Linked DNA regions of Homo sapiens: region 1 is linked to region 2. Evidence: promoter capture Hi-C in 16 types of primary human blood cells and fetal thymus (Javierre and others, 2016). All regions are on one chromosome and are shown on one strand. The core of a region is centred on a gene start or on the middle of the fragment in contact, and the rest is flanking DNA. Distances in the headings are between cores, read along the strand shown. Region 1 overlaps LY86-AS1 (LY86 antisense RNA 1). Region 2 holds the start of SNRNP48 (small nuclear ribonucleoprotein U11/U12 subunit 48).

Region 1 (5,306 bases), core at 830-3,329, 1.0 Mb before region 2:
GTAGCTAATCATGAAGGTGACTAAGTAGCAAGGTAATGACAGTGTAAATACTAGGAAACTACTCCCTTTCTAACGGTAGGAAGACTGGCCTGTTAGCTGCTTTCTGCAATGTTTACTGCTTGTTCAAAACATGCTAGGCACTAGACCCTGAGTTCCTTAGCTTCATCACAAACCCTCTGCTTGTGTAGTATCTATCTGGGCCCATCACATCGCCCATGTGGAACTTAGGGGAAAGAGGAGTCAATGCAAATACTCTGATGCTCATGCTGCTCATTGTTCTTTGAGTAATAAAGTCCTTGGACCCAGGAGTCTCATGTCTCTTGTCAACATCCCTCAAACAGCAACAGGGTACCTATTAGCTTGCAAGTGGGATGAAGTCTCTAAAACTTCACAGTTCTTAATAACTAGTTAAGAAAAAAAATAGTGACAATGTACTGGGAGATTTACAACATATATAGAAGTTAAATACACGCAATAGAATAAGAAATTGGAGTGGTTAAGTGGAAATGTATAATTGCAAGTTTCTTATATTATTGTATTATATTCTAATTATTCTAATAAATCTTATTAACCCATTATATTATATAATTATTGTATTAGTTATATAATTATTACATATATAATTATTGATAATTATATAATTACTAATTGAATTATGTTGTTATAATATATATTTTATATTCTATTAATATACTATCTTGAGAGCAGTACTGTCCAATAGAAATATAATATAAACCACAAATACAAGCCACATATATATCTTTAAATTTTCTAGAAGCCACATTAAAAGCATAAAAGAAATAGAGGAAATTGTAGTATTATATTTAACCTAGGATCTTCAAAATATTATAACTTCAATATGTAATCAACATAAAAAATTACTAGTGAGCTATTTATTTTACACGTTTTACATTAACCCTTCAAAAGCTAGTGTGTATGTTAAACCATCCACACATCTCAGTTCATTTCAGCCGTATTTCCCATGCTAACATAGCAAAGGGCTAGCCTACTGGACAACACACTAGAGCAACCACTAACATAAAACAAGAAGGTATAGTTAAACTGCTAGAGGAGATAAAATGGAATACCGAATAAATACTATATTAATCCAGGAGGAGGTGGGAATGAAAAAAAGCAAAGAGTAGATAGGACAAATAACACTTCTAGGCATGACAGATTAATCTGTTATCTTCTCCAGCTGGAACAGGGTACAGCCAAGGAAGCCGTGGCAGATGGAGTAATGCAAACAAAGACATTTAGTTACAACCCACTAATGGTAAGCTTTGTGAACATGGACAAAAAAACTAATCTTTCTTATCCTGCATTTATTCCTTTACCATAGAGCTTGTTTGCCTGCTAGTTTCTTCACTTGGAGCAATAAAGTGTTATAGTTAAGAAAATGGATTTGGATATTAGCTCTGGATTTGAATCTTGGCTCTGTCATTTTGAGACCTTAGACAAATTACTTAATTGCCCTAAACTTCAGTTTCCTCATTTGTATAATGGGTATTATACAATACCTGCCTCAAATCCCTGTAAAATACAGTGCCTAGCATCTTGGAAGCTCTCAAAAAGGTAAGTTAGTTGTTTCTTTTTATTATTGTTCAGTTAACTAACTCTTAAGACCATGAACTATAGTCCAGACACCATTCAAGACAGAAAGGATTCACGGGTGTATGACAAAGACCTTTTCCTTAACAGAGAAGCCAGACATGTAATATCTGACTGCCTATTTAAATGGCTGTTATGAGTCAGAAATAAAGCAGACAGAAGCACTAGGGTAAAAATATAAATGTTGCTATATAAGTGTCTGTATTATGATGTGTAATCTTTTTCCTTGGCAAAACACAGCAACCAAGCAGCCTGGAAAAATTATGGATATAGTTCTGATCCAGCCATTCTCTCCAAAAATTAGTAGGTTTTAGTCTACCAATGAGTGGGAAGTAAATTATTCTCATTTAACTTTAAAGAGTAGTTTTCTACTTGTTCACCAAGAAGCTCCAATCTTCTGAATCATATTCAACACTGTTAGAAACTACTATTTTGTTGATATTTTCTTCACTAGCATTTTTTAAAGTATTGTGTTCATTCACATATATGTCCCAACCCCTAATTCTAATTTAGACTGAACTATTTCCTAATGAGGGCTACCAGGTGTGTGTGTGTTTAAGTCGTCTGTGTTTATTCTTAGGTCAGGAATTATTTTTATTTACATGTTGTAAGCACTGTATACTTTATTAATAGTTGGCATCATCCTCAGAGTAAACTTAAGTCTCTCCCTCTGTGTATATGTGTGTGTGTGTATATATATATATATATGCATATATATATGGGTGTGTGTATATATATATATATATGCATATATATATGGGTGTGTGTATATATATATATAAAACACTTTGATACATGTTCAATCTTTATCTTGTTTTGTTTTCAAATCTGAAACATGGATTTAATAAGTTTCATTTTGCCGGTGAGTCTGTGACTTGCCAAAGACATAGTAGTCATTAGTGAGACCAGAATGTAGACATAGGTCTGTCTGTCCAACTCCACCCACCTCATGCAACCTCCTTTATATAGTGTCCTCTGCTGGTGAGTGCTTGGGAGAGAGCAATTGTTGAGCAATACTATTTTATATTTGTTCAAAATATAAGAAATTGATGGCCAAGCACAATGTTTCATGCCTGTGACCACAACACTTTGGGAGGCAGAAGTGGGAGGGTCACTTGGGCTCAGGAGTTCAAGACTACAGTGAGCCATAATCACACCACTACACTCCAGCCTGGGCAACAGAGTGACACCCATATTTAAAAATAAAAAATTAAAAAACATATAAGGAATTGGTCACACAAACACAACTGCCTTTACCAAACATTCAGAAGCTTCTCCAGAAGACCACGTACTCCAAGTTGCAGCTAAAACTGCAGCAGCAGTCTACAATCATGTGTTTGCCTTGAAGAGTCGCAACTAAACAATGTACCTGAATTCACCTTTTCCCACATGACTTCCAAGTTAATCATCTATAAGTATAGACAAATCACCCAAGCAAATGCAATACCTTAGATCAAGACTTATTTTTCTTTTTATTTATGTATTATAAGCACTGTATATTTTATTAATAGCCGGCATTATCCACAGAGTAAACTTAAGTCTCAAACAAATCTCATTGTAGGATTTTCTTTACCTGCACCAGATCATAACAATGTTTGTCCAAGAATAAAAAGCACTGTGCAAAAAGGAGGTAACAATAAATGCTGGTTAAACTGAATTTTCATGAAGGTTTAAATTCAGCAATCTCTTACCTTTTGTTTCTTTCCTTTAAATTTGATTTTATAATAGAAAATGGGTAATAGCCTTGCACAGAAATTTACTAAGGAAGAAACACAAATGTCCAGTAATAATAATGTAAAAAAAAATTCAACTCTATCAGTGCTGAAAAAAAAACCCAAGTGAATATAAGGAGAACCAATGTTTAACACTTATCTGACAATGTTTAACAAAAAATACTGTAAAATGATAATGCCTAGCGGCTGATGAGATGGTTAAATTTTTCAATGTATCTAGAAAACAACATAATAGCATGTATCAAACTCCTGAATAATCTCGTAACTCTTTCACGGAGCATTTCCCTTTCAGGTATTTACCAGATGGAAAAAATAATCATAGCTGCACAAAAATATAGCAATAAAGCAACTCTGTAGCATCATCTCCTATTAATTATTTTGTTATCAAGTGTCGACATGTAAAGTGTTTAAATAAATTGTGGTCAACCCATACAGTAGAATACTATGTAGTTATTGAAAGTCAAGTAATGGAAGAATTCTAAGTGACCAATGGAAGTACTATAATGTTATAGCATATACAGTTGGTACAGTATGATTGTGTGTGTGTGTGTGTGTGTGTATGTGTGTACTGGAAAGATATTTCACAAGATGTAAATAAAAGTGATTTCTAGGTATTGAGATTATGGGTGATTATTTTTCCTGTCTCTCCAGTTCCCCTGCCCCACAGAGGAGGGTTAGCTTGTATATCCCCCAAATCCTTCAATTAGAATATACTACTTTAAGAATGAGAAGCAAAAAAAGAGGAAAAAGGAACTGTGATCTACTTTCAGGGGAAGATGACACTCACACTCTGTTAACTTCCTGAGGGCCAGACTGCCTGGGAGGGAAGCCCCTCACCCCACCTTACTTTGCCCTGCCTGCCAAATGCAGAGGTCCAGTGGCCCAGCCAGAAAGACAAGTTTGTGGGGCTGTCCTCATCCTCTATATTTTGTCCATTTAGCCTAAAATATCTTGCGAAATATATATTATGTGCTAGCCATGGGGCACACAATAGTGAGGGGGAAAGAGAGAACGGAAGAGAAGGAAGGAAGGATGGGAAGAAAGTGGGAGGAAGAAAACTTCCCTGGCATATTATGCAGGAGTCTGACCTTCATCAAATGACTGACCCTGAGCCATGCTAGGCAGAGGCAGGGTCACAGGGCTATAGGAGCCGAGTTCAGTGGGAGCTCCCCAGCCCTGACAGAACATCTTTCTTCAGGAAGCAAGCACTGAGTTGAACTCTCAAGGAAGTGCAGGCAATATGGTAAAAAAGGGGTAAGGAAGGGCAGTCCAGGATAGGCACTAGAGATGCCAGGGCAGGGGAGAGCAGGCAGCAAGGCTGGAGTGCCCACAGCCAGGGAGGCTGGATGGGAAGAGACCAAAGCATGCGAGGCCTCAAAGGTACGTGCAGGGGGCACTGAGAGGCTTTGGCAGGGCATCCCTTGGCAGATGCGCCTTCAGACAGGATAGCTCTGGGTGTAGACTGGATAATGGATTTGGAAGGGGGCCATGGTGGATCCCAGGAGGCCATGAGAAGTCCCATCTAGGGCAGTGACACACACGTGGAATGAAATGATGTATTAGTCTGTTTTCATACTGCAATAAAGACGTACCTGAGACTGGATAATTTATACAGGAAAAACGTTTAATGGATTTACAGTTACACATGGCTGGGGAGGCCTCACAATCATGGCAGAAGGCAAGGAGGAGCAAGTCATGTCTTACATGGATGGCAGCAGGCAAAGAGAGAGCTTGTGCACAGAAACTCCCCCTTATAAAACTGTATCTAGTAAAACTTATTCACTATCATGAGAACAACATGGGAAAGACCTGCCCCCATGATTCAATTACCTCCCACAACATGTGAAAATTTAAGATGAGATTTGAGTGGGGACACAGTCAAACCATATCAAGTGGAAATACTATTTCAGTGACTTTGATGGGGAGTTTCCAATCTTACACTTCCAAATGGTAACAAAGATT
Region 2 (5,785 bases), core at 1,169-3,668:
GTTTCTAGTGAAACCTGGCTCATGGGTGGCTATCAGTCTTATCTGATTAGAGTACCCACCCCTCCTTTATGACCTCATTTAACTTTAATTACCTCTTAGGGCTCTATCTCCTTATACAGTCACATTGTGGGTTGGTACTTCAACATAGGCATTTTTGAGGGACTCAATCCAATCCATAACAGAGGCCTAGCCTAGAACAGGAGTCTGGAGACCACTCCAGGAAAGTGATATCAAAACAGATCAGCAGCATCAGTGTAGAGCAGTTCCTCGGGCTGAAACAGTAACTAGAGAGTACAGTCAATTGACAAATCTTTCCTACTCCCTCCAGGCTTGTGCCAATGTTGTCATGAAGCTCTGAGATGACATGGGGCTGTATCCTGAAGAGAGGATATGTTTGACGTGGGCTAAGTTTTAATTTGGTTCACATATACAAACAGGGAAATATACACTAGAACTTTTTATCAGGAGTCATGTCACATCAGAAATAGTCTCACATTTTTCCAGACCAACCAGCTAACTATGGAAATGCAAATAAAAAGTAAGGATACCGGGCTGGGCGCGGTGGCTCACGTCTGTAATCCCAGCACTTTGGGAGGCTGAGGCGAGCAGATCACAAGGTCAGGAGTTCGAGACCAGCCTGGCCAATATGGTGAAACCCCATCTCTATTAAAAATAGAAAAATTAGCAGGGTGTGGTGGCATGTGCCTGTAGTCCCAGCTACTCGGGAGGCTGTGGCAGAAGAATTGCTTGAACCCGGGAGATGGAGGTTGCAGTGAGCTGAGATTGCGCCACTGCACTCCAGCCTGGGTGGCAGAGCCAGACTCCGTCTCAAAAAAAAAAAAAAAAAGATACTGTAGGCAGAGTATGAATACATTAACTTCATACTCCTCTCTTACCAGCTTCTAGCCACTTCTGTATTTTATGGTGCTGCCTATTTATAGTCTTATGACTATTTTTTTAAGTGAGAACCGTGCTATTTGCCTTTAGAAATAATTGTTCACCAAAAAATTCCCCCACAGTTCCTTCACATGGGTAAACAAAGTGCAAAAGGAAACCAAGGTTTGACACTTGGGCTTGAAAAAATTTTAAAAAGTAATATAAAATGGGTTAGATTCTAGGAGTTGAAACCATTTGGGGAAACTACAAGGGCTAATTCCAGGTGTTGGGTAGGAAATGTACAAAGTTAAGCTTGTGTTATCAAAGCAAGAAAGCATTCAAGGACTAATAGGGATACATGAAAGACACAGATGGCTTAATGTGGCTTCCACTGGCCACATTTGGGACAATTTGAGCATCAACAAGAATTATGATGTTAAAGGAGTATATTATATTGAATTAAAAAAAAACCTTAAATCAATAACTTTAAAAACACCTTGATTCCCATAGTGAAGCAAACACTAAAATGGAGGTGTGGAAAGAATGCCAGTTAATAAACATAAAAGGCATGATACTATTGCGGAATCACTTATAACTCCTAATGTAACAACAGATTCAGTGAAGGACTGTATCAAGGAGTTGGGGAACAGGTTATTCTTATGGACTCAAGGTATAATCCACAGATTGCTTACCAATTCCTAAGAGGAAAATGTACTATTAGAATGAAGAGATGTAGCCACCACCTTTACCAAGTGATCAAATTTAGCATTACTAATATAACTGAGTTATGCGTCCCCGTGAGTTGGCAACATCTCTTAGGTAGTATTGCAAAAGTGCTCAAACTGAATCTAATCATGAGGGAAACAAAATCTGACAAATCCAGAATGAGAGAGATTCTACAAGACAACTGGCCTAGGCTCATCACAACATGTAATGATTTAATAATTTAAAAAGGAGGGTGAAGGAGGCTGATCTGGATTAAAAGAGACAATAACTAATTATAGCTTATGAGTTGAAAAAATAAAACTGCTATAGAAATAATTTTGGGGACAATGGGGAAATTTGAATATGAACTGTATAATAAATGATTTTATGGACTTACTAATTTTCTTAGGTTTGATCATGTATTGCGGTTACACAGGAAAATGTTCTTATTCTTAGAACATGCATGCTAACATATTTGGGGGTGAAAAATCTGCAACTTACTTTCAAAGAATTCAGCAAAAATCATTGGGTGGGGCTGTGAATGTGGAGAGAAGAGACGGAGAGAAATCAAACCTGGCAAAATGTTAACAATGAGCTGAAGGACGGCTAAACGAAAGCTCATTGTACTATTTTTAAAACTTTTCTGTAGCTATAAGCCGTTTTTTCTGAGGAAGTCGAGGAGGGCGAATATCTTTCTGGAAAGGCCAGAGCAAATGCACGCAAGAGCTGAGAAAAGATTGGAAAACGCCTCTCAAAATAACAGTCCCGCCCTTCCCGGGACTCTTCCCTATAGGCTGTTCAAGTCACGTGGCGACTGTGGCCCCGCCCACAGCTCCCAGAGGCCTGCGCGTGCGGTCTGCAGTTCGGCCGCTTCCTCTTGGCGGGTGGGCTGCAGCTATGGAGGGCGAGCCTCCACCTGTGGAGGAGCGGCGGCGGCTGCAGGAGGAGCTGAACGAGTTCGTGGAGAGCGGCTGCCGGACGTTGGAGGAGGTGACCGCGTCCCTGGGCTGGGACCTAGATAGTCTGGATCCCGGGGAAGAGGAGGCGGCGGAGGTGAGGAGCGCGGCCGCGGGGCCCTTTCGGGGACTATCGGCCCGGGGTCTTCTCTGGAAGAAGGGAGATCCGCACTGGCAGCCGCGGAGGGAAGGGCGAGGAGTCCTCGTCCGTGTGCAGAGCCGCGATGGGCGCCTGGGACCCGAGGGGCGCCGGGGGCCCTGGAGCAACCCTGACGTCCCTGGGTTCCGGGCTGGGGCGCGCGAGGAACTCCCGAAGGCTCCACATCGACCTCCAGTGCGGCGCTCCTCCCGCGCAACTTCGAGTTTAAAGAAAACCGGGGGCCGGGCGCGGTGGCGCACGCCTGTAATCCTAGCACTTTGAGAGGCCAAGGCGGGAGGATCCCTTGAGCCCAGGAGTTCCAGACTAGCCTGGGCAACATGGTGAAACCTCTTCTCTACCAAAAGTACAAAAATTAGCCGGGTGTGGTGGTGTGAGCCTGTGGCCCCAGCTATTTGGGAGGCTGGGGTGGAAGGATAGCTTGAGCCCAGGAGGTCGAGGCTGCAGTGAGCCGAGATCGCTCCACTGCATTCCAGCCTGGGCGACAGAGCAAGACCCTGTCTCAAAAAACAAACAAACAAAATCCAGGAAGGTGTGTTGAGTGAGGAGGGAATGGCAGATTTGGTATTTATTTAGAAAATAAGTGAACGTGTCTCAGAGCGCTGCAGAGGGATTGGCGGTTTGCATTGTCATCTGTCATACGGATTCCGCAGTTGCACCAGATTCGGTGTCAGGAGAGCTGGGAGTTTGCCAGTTCGCCTTTCTGTGCCTTAAAATTGGACACTTCTGACTGGGACAGCACCAATTCTAGGATTATTAAAGGTTGTCACCAAGAGGTGGTAACTGGCAACTCCTGTGGACATTAGAATTGCTTTTTTAAAAATGTAGGCAAGTGTATTTAGAGTGAACATTCGTGATTTTTGTTTTTTTGTGGGGTATTTTCGGTGGAATGAGAGGAAGGGAAGTGCTCCAATGTGGGGTAATTCATTATCTTTACTATTACTTCTGGGTTTACCATGCTGTGATAATTTCTCCTGGGTTTAAGTTACATGACTGATTCCTCAGAGGCATTTAAAATATATTTGATTTCTGTATATACCATTCATTGTTTATTGTATTAAAAGCACAGAGGAAATTAAAAAATCTTTAATATTCATTTAGAGGGGTATTTGAAGCTGGGAATTCCACTGAGTGGGGCTTACCAGACCCTTCCATACATTGTTTACTCAGCATTGCGGTAACATTGGATTCCTTGTATTAACGTTTAAATAGCACTTTGTTTGCCACTTACATTACTTCATTTAATACTCAAAATAACCCTATGAGGTAGGTATCTTTGGCCACATTTTATAGACGAGGAAAGGAACACAGAAGTGATAATTTGTCGAAGGATACACTGCTAGTAAATGGCAGTTAGGATTTCCGCCGGTGTTTTAGTACTGAAATTTAGTGAACAACAGTCCTAGTTGTCATCTGTTCCTAGTTGTCACCTAGTTCCTAGTCCTCACAGAGCTAGTCCTAGTTGTCACCTAGTTCCTAGTCCTAGTTGTCACCTAGTTCCTAGTCCTCACAGAGCTTATTGTCTGGTGGTGATGAGGGGTAATACGGATAACTGAACCATTATATTATCATGGGTCTGTGATGGGTGGGGTTGGAATTGCTATAGTACAGTTTATTGTAGGCGGTGGTGGACAAAGTGGTGGTCAGCAAAGGCTTCCTGGACAAAGTGAATTCTAAGCTGATAAATAAAAGTGAGTTGAATTGGCTAGGGGGTTGGCGGGTGCGGGGAAGAAGCATCAACAGCATGTGTAGAAGTTCAGAGACAGGGAGTGACCAGATCGGGAAGCCTCAAGTAGTTAAGGATAGCTAGAGCATAGAGTGTAGAGTTAGAGTAGAATGGTGATGGTGGGTAGAGGTCAGATCTTAAAGGTCCTTGTCAGCCATATTAGAAAGTCTAGATTTTTTTTTTTTTTTTTAATGAAGGCAGTGGGGAGGTATGGAATTATTTTAAGCCAGGGCATATTATAATCACATTTACCTTTTAATAAAATAATAGCATACATTTATTGAATGCTTGCTATGTACCAGGCCCTATTTGAATTCCTTTATGTGTATAAACTTTGGTATACTTTTTTAAATCTTCACAATCACTTTGTGAGAGAGGTCCTGCTATTATTTTTATTTTATATAATAGAAAATGAGGCAAAGAGAGATTAAGTACCTCACCCAGTTTCATGCAGCCAGTAAGTGGCAGAGATGGAATTCAAACCAGCTACAGGATGGAAACTGAAGGGGAGGGCAGCAAGACTGGAAGCAGAGAGAGAGAGCAAGAGTGAGAGAGAGCGAGCGAGCGTAGTCAGGAGATGGTGTTGTATTCCAGGAGAGAGTTGATGATACCCTGAGTTGGGGAAGTGGCAGTGGGGATGGAGGATGTTGAGGGATTTTCAGAAATATTTAGGAGTTAAATTGGCAGGACTAGGTGATTGATTGGACGTGGGTGATGAGGGAGAAGTAGTTTCTTGCTTGAGCAAGGGGGACCTTTCACTGAAATAGAAAAGTACAAAAGGAATAGATTTGAGGGTTGGGAGATGATGAATATAATTAATTTATTTTTGTTTGTGTTGAACTTTTAGTGTCTTTAATATACGGTACTGGAGAGAAACAAGGTTTAAAGATCTAAATTTTGGGAGTCCTCACTGTATAGTGAGAGTTGTAGCTTTGAGATCTTTCAGTAAGCATATATTAAACAGCAAAAGGTCAGTGGTTATATTAATACTTACATGAAAACCAACATCTAAAGGGGGACAAATAGAGCAAGGAAGACAGATATTTAGGATATTTAGAGGAGACCAAGTAGAAGAAGCCAGAGAGGTAGAAAGAACATGAGGGGTGTGTCAGAATCACAGATGGACAATTGGAGTGTGACCTTCCAAGAGTTCAGATAAAACAAGACAGTGACATGTTTTTGGCTTTAGTAACAAGGTTATTAGTGACCTATTGACTGGTTTCAGTGGGGTGATGGTGGCAATGAGTGAGGAATCGTTATAGGTGAGGTGAGGTTGTTTAGACAGTGAGTGTAAATACACCTTTCAAAGAGTTAGGCTTTGAAGGAGTGGAGAGAGGACAGGGGCATTTAGGGAGTTAGGGGTTG

Evidence for each region. Contacts are between HindIII fragments. The CHiCAGO score rates a contact against its expected background, and 5 or more counts as called.
Region 1: a contact is called between a fragment that was not itself captured here and the fragment with the promoter of SNRNP48 in region 2, in 1 of 17 cell types (fetal thymus). The highest score is 5.2, in fetal thymus.

The regions. Positions count from the first base shown.
Region 1 is chr6:6,575,350-6,580,655 of GRCh38, forward strand. The region is part of intron 1 of LY86-AS1 (LY86 antisense RNA 1); the gene reads right to left. Among named protein-coding and RNA genes, the nearest start is that of LY86, 11 kb to the right of the region's middle. The HindIII fragment of the contact is 1,601 bases long and covers 1,280-2,880 here.
Region 2 is chr6:7,587,780-7,593,564 of GRCh38, forward strand. SNRNP48 (small nuclear ribonucleoprotein U11/U12 subunit 48) reads left to right here and starts at 2,419. Exons shown (of 9, transcript NM_152551.4): 1 at 2,419-2,634. The coding sequence starts at 2,479. RefSeq lists enhancers at 2,176-2,915, 2,494-2,643. The HindIII fragment of the contact is 5,411 bases long and covers 1,187-5,785 here.